Linked DNA regions of Homo sapiens: region 1 is linked to region 2. The links are contacts of gene promoters, found by promoter capture Hi-C in blood cells and fetal thymus (Javierre and others, 2016). All regions are on one chromosome and are shown on one strand. Each heading gives the region's core, a stretch centred on a gene start or on the middle of the fragment in contact. The rest is flanking DNA. Distances are from core to core; before and after follow the strand shown.

Region 1 (4,893 bases), core at 537-3,036, 200 kb before region 2:
CAATCCTTTTTTTTTTTTTTTTTTTTTTGAGACATTCTTGCTCTGTCACCCAGGCTGGAGTGCCGTGGCACGATCTTGACTCACCGCAACCTTTGCCTCCTGGGTTCAAGTGATTTTCGTGCCTCAGCCTTCTGAGTAGCTGGAATTACAGGCATGTGCCACCACACCCGGCTAATTGTTGTATTTTTAGTAGAGATGGGGTTTCACCATGTTGGCCAGGCTGGTCTAAAACTCTTGGCTTCAAGTGATCCACCTGCTTTGGTCTCCTAAAGTGCTGGGATTACAGGCATGAGCCACCCATGCCTGGACCCATTGTTCCAATTCTATTCTCTGAATTCTTATAAAATTAGCCTAACTTTACTTCCACATGATAGCCTTTTAGGTTTATGAAGACTACCATTATAATCATTCACTCAATCATTTAACAAATACATACTTGAAAAGGAGAAAAGCAACCACTGACATGTGCAGTTGGCCTGGCTCTATCACCTGGCCCTCTGTGGTGTTAGGAGCTCATCTGGCATCACAGACAGGTCATGGTATTCTTCTGATGAACATAAACAATCTCACAGAGCACCTACATCAGACAAGGGCACTCTATGACCTCGGTAAAGTGAGACAAAAACCAAACCAAACAAAAACAAGACCACTTCATAAATTTTATCCAAGAACAGGAAAAAATAAAGTCACTGTGTAAACCACAAAAATAGCCTCCTCTTCCTGCTAATATAACTGCTGCTTCTTTACCAATTATATCCTTAGCCTTGCTCTCTTCTTCCCCCTTCTAAAAAAAAATTTATTAAAATACCCAATCAGATAATTATTCCTGCTTCCTGGCATCATTCAATTCAGAGCAAAACCTCACTTCCTTGAAACCTCTGCCAAATCACCTAACTTAAGCCCAAATCCTCCTTGCTAACATACCAAGCCATTCCATGGTTCCCCCTCTTGTACATTCTCTTTCATGACAACAAGCCAAAAACTCAACTTGTTCAATTACAGGTATGTTCCTGGTGGTCTTTGGCTGGAAGGCATTGACATACTGAACACCTAATATAAGCCAGGCACTAGGGATAGGGCAATGAATAAAACAAACAAAAATCTGTGTCTCCGTCAGAGCTTCTGTGGAAGTGAAGAGTGAACCAGGTGAAAGCATAATATGGTGTGTTAGTTGTGCTATGTGCCATGTGGAAAAGTAATGTCGAGGAAGGAATATGGCTGTTGGGATTTTGGTTCACTAGGAACAGGCTTACTAAGGTGCCACTCTGAGATCTGAGGGAGGGGACATGTGACCCGTGCAGCTATTTCGGGGTGTTCAAAGAGCGAATGGCCAATACAAAGGCCCTAGGACAGGAAGGTGCCTGGGGTGGCTCAGGAGCAGCACGGAGAACTCCTGTGGCTGGAGTGGGTGATCAAAGAGGAGAGGAGTAGGAGACAGTAAGATGGGGCGTGAGGAGAGAACAATGATCAAATAGGGTCTTATAAACCACTGCCAGGATTTTGGCTTTTACTTTGCATAAGTGAGATGGGAAGTTGTTGCAAAGCGTTGAACAGAAAAATCACGTGGTTTCTTCTTCTTTCTTTCTTTTTTTCCTTTTCTTTCTTTCTGTTTTTTTTTTTTTTTTTTTTTGACAGAGTCTTGCTCTGTCACCTAGGCTGGAGCACAGTGGCATGATCTTGGCTCACTGCAGCCTCCGCCTCCCGGGTTCGAGTGACTCTCATGCCTCAGCCTCCTCAGTAGCTGGGATTACAAACACATGCCACTATGTCCACCTAATTTTTGTATTTTTAGTAGAGACAGGATTTTGTCACATTGGCCAGGCTGGTTTCAAACTCCTGACCTCAAGCGATCCTCCCACCTCAGCCTCCTAAAGTGCCGGGATTACAGGCGTGAGCCACTGTGCCCGGCCCAACATTTTTTTTTTTTTGTAAAATATCTTTCTAGCACACTACATTGTTTATCTATTTAACTTACTTCTTGTCCGCCTATTCTTTTTTTTATTTTTTTTGTAAAGACAGGGTCTCGCTATGTTGACCAGGCTGGTCTTGAACTCCTGGCCTCAAGCAATCCTCCTACCTCTGCCTCCCCAAAGTGCTGGGATTACAGGAGTGAGCTACTGACCCCAGCCTCTCTGCCTATTCTTACTAGAATAAACGTTCAATGAGAGCAAGGATTTGGGTCTATTTTTCTAATTAACAAACACTGCACAGAACAGTGTCTGGTTATAGTAGGGGCTCAATAAGTACTTGTTGAATGAATAGTTTTTGGATCCATTGTGACTTTTGTCTCACATCCATGAGCATGCTCCTTTGGCAGTGTTTCTCTAAAATGATCAGGGGATGTTCCAGCCAAATTCTGGAATAGTAGGATGTTTCTCCTTTGTTCAAACCCTGGCATTTTATGGTGCAGCCCAGCAAGCCTAGCCTGTTTGGCAGGCATATCAGCCACTTCATGCCTCCCTATCCAGAACCTTGTACTTTTCCTGCGAAGAAGAAAATCTACAGTCAGCCAACCCCTCGTAGCTCAGGATATGTGCTGTATCTCTAACAGTGGAATCACACATCTCATAGGAAATGGAGAAAAAGGACATCAGACATCCGACTGCAAAATCTCTTTTAAGAAAGGATGTCCCCAATAAAAGAACAAAGAAAGGAAGGAAGGAAAGAAGGAAGGAAGGCAGGAAGGCCCAGCTTGGGCAACATAGCAAGGTCTCATCTCTACTAATATATACATAAATAAATAAAACCGGCATGGTGGCGTGCACCTGTAGTCCCAGCTACTCAGAAGGCTGATGTGGGAGGATTAATTGAGTCTAGGAGTTTGAGGTTGTAGTGAGCTATGATTGTGCCACCTGCACGCTAGCCTGGACAACAGAGTGAGACCTTGTTTAAAAAAAAGGAAAAGTAAAGATGCCAAACTTGAACTCCCAAATTTTCAACTTTGGAGACCGTAGACAGGAGTTTAAGTTTCTTCTGTGGCATCAACTAGCTCTAGGACTTTAACCAAACCAATTAACCTCTCCAAACTTCGTTTTAGTCATCTGCAATATGAAACTAATAAGGCCTATATAGTAAGGCTGTTATGAGGATTGGGTAGAATTATGTAGAGGACTATAGTAGACCTTAGTAAATGCTATTTTTTCTTACTTCATAATCTCTTCCCATTTGCCAAATGTTTTCGGCTAAGATGAAGTGGGAGTAAAAATTAGCTGGGCGTGGTGGTGAGTGCCTGTAATCCCGGCTACTCAGGAGGCTGAGGCAGGAAAGTCACTTGAACCCGGGAGGCGGAGGTTGCAGTGAGCCGAGATCATGCCATTGCGCTCCAGCCTGGGCAACAAGAGCGAAACAGCGAAACTCCGTCTCAAAAATAAATAAATAAATAAATAAATAAATAAATAAATAAATAAATAAAGGACAACTGTGATATCTATTCTTTTGTATCTGGCTTTTCCCACTTAGCATATGTTTTCAAGGTTCATCCATGTTGTAGATAATTTTTTGTCTACAACGTTTTTGGAGATAAATTTGTTTTGTCTACAATTTTTTGTAGACAATTTTTAAATTGCATTTTCTTGTATGAGTGAGATTGAAATCCTGTAATATGTAAGCTTTTATATGATAAAAAGCCATTTGCGTCTTTCTCCATGACCACTTAATTCATGTTTGTAGTCCATTCCTCCTATCCAAGAATAGGAAATAACTTTACATGTACTCAAATATTTTGGCCCATCAGCAGCATTTGAGTTTCTCTTCACATACTTCTTGCACAGTTATGTTAAATAAAACTAGTTCTTTAAATTTACACCAAAAAAATAGCTAGTAATTGAACACTAGTAGCATCATTTCTAAATTAGTCATCTTCTCAATTTGTAAAATTTGAAGTTGTGTTAAAATTCCACAAGGTGGCAGACTGGTTCTACTAAGTTGGGCTTACTGCATGGGTTTAAATAACATCCTAAATGTGTTATATGCATTCAATGGAATAGTATTTAGCTTTAAAAAAGTGATATTCTGACACATGCTTCAACATAAATGAAAAAACTTTGATAAGATTATATTAAGTGAAATAAGCCAGTTACAAAAGGACACATATTGTATGTTCCACTTAAATGTGTAGTCAAAATCAGAAAGACAAAGTAGAATGGTGTTTGGCTGGGAAAAGAAGAAATGGGGAGTTATTGTTTAATGGATCCACAGTTTCACTTTCAGAAGACATAAAAATTCTGAATATGGATGGTGGTGACGACTGCACAACAATGTTAGTGTACTTAATGCCACTAAATTGTACACTTAAGAATGATTAACAAGGTAAATTTTATGTTATTGTATATTTTACCACAATAAAAAAGATGGTAAAAAATAAGATTCAAGTAAAGAAATGTATAAAGAATACAAAAGTCTTCCACTGTACTGTGTATCCTTCCAAAATTTCTGTAAGTACACCCACACCCAGGTGTGGTGTGTACTCAATATTTTACACTGTATTGTTCAATCAAGAGAAATATCCACCTCATCCTTTTTTAGAAAAAAACTTAGGAAAAGTTACTTTTTTCCTATGCAGTAGAATTCTGTGAGATTCACTACATATAGATTTGTGTAACCACCACCAAAATCAGGATACAGAATGATTCCATTACCATCTCTCAACCCCTGCCCCCCAAAAATCAAACTCCTATGCTAGTATTTTACAGTCACAGCCTTCCCAAAATGAACCCTGGGCAACCACTGATCTTTTCTTCCTATCATATTATCTTCTCCAGAGTACCATATAAATGGAAACATGTAATATGTAACCTTTTGAGTCTGCCTTCTTTCACTTAGCAAAATCACCATGTATTCATGGAGGTTGTTGCCTGTGTCAGTAGTTTATTCTTCTCACTACTGGGTAGTATT
Region 2 (4,911 bases), core at 2,024-4,523:
TGAATATGGCATGGTTGTTGCCCAGAGGAGCTTTTTCTTTAGTGACAACACAGACAATAAATTAACAGTAACCATAGCTCTGGTGTTCTATGCTCCAAGGGCTTGGAGAGCATTGGAATCAGCAGACAGGCAGGTAAAGCAGTCTGGCAGACGGCAACCTTGTGGAAGAGTTTCTGGATGGGCAGCCAGGTTGGGGTGTTGGGTTGAATGTGTAATTGAGTATGATGTGGTAACCAGGATAGGGATGTTTAGTTGCCCAGTGAAAATCAGAGCCTAGAAGGGAGGAGAGGGACTCCTCTGTGAGTATAGAGTTGGATGCATGCAGGTTGAGGACGGTTGAAGCCAGGAAAATCTAGAGGAAATGTGAACAGGACCAAGAGGAGGATGAAGCCCAGAAAGACTTGAGAAGGAGCTGTCAAAGGAGGAGGAGAACCTACAGTGGGTAGAGCTATTGAGCTGAGGGGGTAAGAGTCTGAGAAAAGAATCTTCCATGGTGCCATGGTGACAGATGCTGCCAAGAAAGTGGGTAGCAGGGCCAAGGTGTCCTCCAGGTAAGAAAATTAGGCTGGCATTGATGATCTTAGAATGGCAGGAAGGGGTTTCCTTCCAGATGTCATGGGGTATGGAGAAAAGGTGATGAGGATGCTAAGAAATGAATATGGCTCTCTCTCAGAAGTTGGTTAGGAAGTGATGATGAGATAAGCCAGGGAGCTAGAGTGAGAAGTGGGCTTCATAAAGATGCAGCTTTTAAGATGGAAAACACTTGAGTATTTATTCTCATTAGGATTGAGTACATAACTTATGGGGCCCAGTGCACAACTAAAATGCCGGGACTCCTTAAAAAAGTATTTAAAAAATTCAAGACAACAACAGCTAAACATTAAACCAATTTGGGACCCTTTAAAGTGCAGAGCCCTGTGTGGCTTCAAGAGTTGCACATCAGGAAGCAGGCCCTGGTTCTCAGGGTAAGGGGCCAGGGGAGGAAGGTGGAAGTGAGTGGATCAGTGATAGAGCCCCAGGCAAGAGCAAGTGGGATGAAAGGGACCCAGGGTCCAGGTGGGGGCAGAGCCTTGAATGGGAGGAAAAGTATGACTTTGGTCACCTTCTGAGAAGTGGGAGATGGAAGATGGAGAGGAGATGGAAAATAAGATGAAAGATGAAGAGGAGAGGGTGCTAGAAGTCATTCTGGAGAAATTATTTACCTTATTGACTAATTTCTGAGTCGAGGAAAGGGGCAGAAGCTTGCAGCAGCATCAGTGGAGTAAGAGGCTGAGGGGCTTTGGGGTGGAAGTGGGGCACTGAGTGGTCCCACTAGCAGCAGGCACTTGGTAGATGGGGCAGAAGCAAGCCAGGTACCCAAAGGACAGGTGGGACTGAAGGAGGGGTGTGGAGAGGAGGCCCCTGAGAGGATGGGCTGGGATCCGGGTTGGAAAAGTGATAGGAAATGAGGTGGCCAGGACTGGAGGGCTCTCTCAGTGAGGAGGGAGGTGGACGTGAAGGTGGAAGTGCAGGCGGCCCATCTCAGAGGGGAAGAATTCGTGCGTTTAGTATTCTGGCTGTGAGGAGATGCGGAAGTTGGTGGAGATCCAGTCTAGATCAGGGGTCCCTAACCCCGCGGCCGCAGACCGGTACTGGTCCGTAGCCTGTTAGGAACCGGGCCACACAGCAGGTGAGCGGCCAGTGAGCGAGCATTACCGCCTGAGCTCCGCCTCCTGTCAGATCAGCGGAGGCATTAGATTCTCATGCCAGAGAGAGCCCTATTCTGAACTGCGCATGCGAGGGATCTAGGTAGCGCGCTCGTATGAGAATCTAATTCTTGATGATCTGAGGTGGAACAGTTTCATTCTGAAACCATCTGCCCTTCCTCCCCCAAACGCCCCCCACCCCCACCCCACCACTGTCCGTGGAAAAATCGTCTTCCACAAAACCGGTCCCTGGTGCCAAAAAGATTGGGGACGGCTAATCTAGAGGATTCATTCAAAGAGTTAAATAACAAAGAAAGTAGAGCTAGAAGTTCGTCTGGAAGGAGCGGAAGTGTCGTGGAATTATTATTTTAAGATCAGGCATAAGTGTGTATGTGTGGCAGGGAGGGAGATCACGGAGAGGGAGAGGTTAAAGATGTGGGTGAGGCTGCTAAATAGGGATAAGGGTTTCTTTTCCCTTGAAACCAGAGGAAAGGGAGATAGACGCGTTATAGAGTCGCCTTGAAAACACTCGGATGTTAAGAGAGACTGGGTGTTATGAGGGCGATCTATATAAGGGGGGAGGAACCAGGAACTTGGCTGTGGCCTGGGAATAGGGAGAACCGTGAATTTTTCTTGAAAACGAAGGGGGTCGCCCGTGAGCAGCGAGGAGAGCGGTGGGAGGCAGCGCCGAGTCTTGCCGCTCCCGCCTGGCAGGGGCGGGCAGGACGCAAACCTTCCTTCCCAGTCCCTCGGTTACCAGGGCATCCCCGGCTCTCTGCAATTCGGGAACCTTGCCAGAAGGGCTCCCACCTCCCCAAGCCCCCGCGGCCCCACAAGGTCCAATTAGGGCTTTCGGCGGCCTAACTGGGGAGAGGCCGTGGTGATGCAGAGGTTTAACCAGCATCCGCCGGGAGCCCCGGGGTCCAGGCCCGGCGCTGGAGTCCCGCAGCGAAGCCTCGCAGCCCCCACGCCTCTCGACTCTAGGCTTGTGCCCTAAAAGCGGCCTGGGTTCCCTGGCGCACCCTCCTCTTTCTTAGCTTCTTTGTCCCTAAGGGAAACCTCCCCGTACCCTTAGGTGGGGCTCCCGGTCACTGCCACCACCCCTCTTGCTGCCGAAGCCGGCTCCCTGGCCACCTGGTGCCCTGCCGGGGTATTCCAAATCTGGGCAGCAGAAGCCGGCCGCCGCCGCCTTCATCTGGAAAGGCTTAAGCCTTCTCCGGGTGGGGAAGAAGTCAGAAGGCCGCCTGTCTCCCCGTCCCCCAACCCCCCAACTCCCCAACTCGGTCCTCCAGGCTCCGAGGGGTGCAGCTCGGCCCTGGGCCGCGGGGCGCACGTGCAGCAGAGTCCGGCCGCCCGGCCTCCCCGCCCCGCCTCCGCCGCCGGCCTTTGGCGCAGGGCTGCGGATGCCGCGCGAGCCGTCTCCTTTGCACTTTCCCGGCTGCGGTCCGGTCGTTCGGGGCAGCCCGGCCGGGGGTAGAGGACCCGGAGGAGGGGAGGAGCCGGAGGGAGAGGGGAAGGAGGGGGCCCGCCGGCCCCGCCCCCGCCCCGCCCCCCGCGGCCGGAGCCCGGGCTGCAGCCCGGCGCGCCTGAGCCTGCGAGTCCGCGAGCCAGCGAGCTGCGGCTGCGGCCTCCCCTGCGCGCAGCTACCCGGGCGTCCCGGCCCGCGGCCCCGCTAACCCCGGGGCCCGCGCCCCCGCGGCAGGGATGCATCATGGCCACGCTGGCTTGCCGGGTGCAGTTCTTGGACGACACGGACCCTTTCAACAGCACCAACTTCCCCGAGCCCAGCCGGCCGCCGCTGTTCACGTTCCGCGAGGACCTCGCGCTCGGCACCCAGCTGGCGGGGGTCCATAGGCTGCTGCAGGCGCCGCACAAGGTACGACCCGGCGGGGTGGGCTGGGCCCCCTGGACTCAGCCCCCTGCCGCGGTGCGCGCCGGGGTGGGTCCCGGGGCTTCGTGGGCCCCCTGGGCTGGGCTGGGCGCGGCCCGGGGGGACCATCGCTCGAGGGCAAATCCCCCTCCCCGTTAGACAGAAGGGCTCGAGGCACCCGCTGGTTGGCGCAGGACCCTCCGGGGCGGGCGGGAAGGAACAGCTAGAGCCGGGGGCGGGCGTGGCAGAGCAGGTGCCGAGCCGGTCCGAGGCGGGATGGAGAAGGCTCCCCCGAGCCGCGCCGTTAGCTCGGCCGGGTGGGCGGGGTGGGGCTAGGACGCGGGCAGTCGGCCTCGGCACTCGGGCGGGCACCAAGCGGGGCGCGGGAAGAAGCGGAGCGCCGCGAGACTCAGGTCCCTTGGAGAGGAGAGCTCTGAGCGACGGCCGGGACAAAACCTCCCTCAGGCCTCTGGGGCCGCTGCGGGCGGCCACGCGACCCTCGCGACAAAGCACGCTTCCCGGCGACACCGCCTCCTCCTTCCCCCGGGGGCGCCGCCGGGGACGCCGGCCGCACACTGCGATAGCGCTCAGGGTATCCCCCTTTTCTTCTGAGAAGCAGGTGGCCTTGGGAACCTCGGAGGAGCAGTCGCTGTGGGAGGAGGGGCGGGGGCGCGGAGGGGCGGCGCGCTCACAAAGCCTCAGCTTGGCAGCCCGAAATGAGTGTCCCCTGGGAAGAATGGCTGCTCAGTCTACCCGTTAGAGAGGTTTTTTTTTTTTTATTTGTTATTTTTATTTAAATAAAACCTTTTGCAGGAGGATAGGCCTCTTGCAAAGCATTTGTTGCAAAGAGGTGGGTATTGAAAGCTAATCATTTCGTTACCTAGGAAAACCCTTACTCTCACTTAGACAGATTGAATGCAGCTTGCAAAATTACCTTCCCAGTATTTTTTCTGCCTAGGATTCATATCAAAGCTTGGAGATGATTTATTTCTTGAGGGTCGACATTAACACATATTTGGAAGAGATAAGCGTTGATGCCCAAAAGAACAAAATTGATTTAAAAAAAAACCTCGGATTTCTGTATGATGTTGACCTGCTTTGCAAGTAGAGGAGGAGGTTGGTTGTGTGAGGAAACTGGTGGACTTTAGCAGTGGTAGTTTCCTCTCTATTAATGTATCAGTGCTTTCCTCCTCTACTTAGTTAGTAACGTTTTCAGGAATAAGGAATGGGGCATTTCCATCTCATTCTCTCCTGGTTGGTTCAGGACGGATACAGTCGTGGAAACCTCTCTGGCCACAAAAGCACATTTGATTGGGAGACAGAGGGTCGTCATCATCCAGAGTGATGTATTCTGGA

The links. The method cuts DNA at HindIII sites, captures the fragments that hold promoters and counts their contacts. A CHiCAGO score of 5 or more calls a contact.
Region 1: a fragment that was not itself captured here is called in contact with the fragment with the promoter of FHOD3 in region 2 in 4 of 17 cell types (megakaryocytes, M2 macrophages, endothelial precursors and 1 more); the score reaches 6.5 in megakaryocytes.

What each region holds. Positions count from the first base shown.
Region 1 is chr18:36,092,210-36,097,102 of GRCh38, forward strand. No RefSeq gene overlaps it. Among named protein-coding and RNA genes, the nearest start is that of RPRD1A, 27 kb to the left of the region's middle. The HindIII fragment of the contact is 3,639 bases long and covers 1-3,606 here.
Region 2 is chr18:36,294,440-36,299,350 of GRCh38, forward strand. It overlaps FHOD3 (formin homology 2 domain containing 3), which reads left to right and starts at 3,274. Exons shown (of 29, transcript NM_001281740.3): 1 at 3,274-3,561. The coding sequence starts at 3,397. RefSeq lists an enhancer at 2,120-3,097 and silencers at 3,037-3,326, 3,447-3,516. The HindIII fragment of the contact is 3,286 bases long and covers 1,240-4,525 here.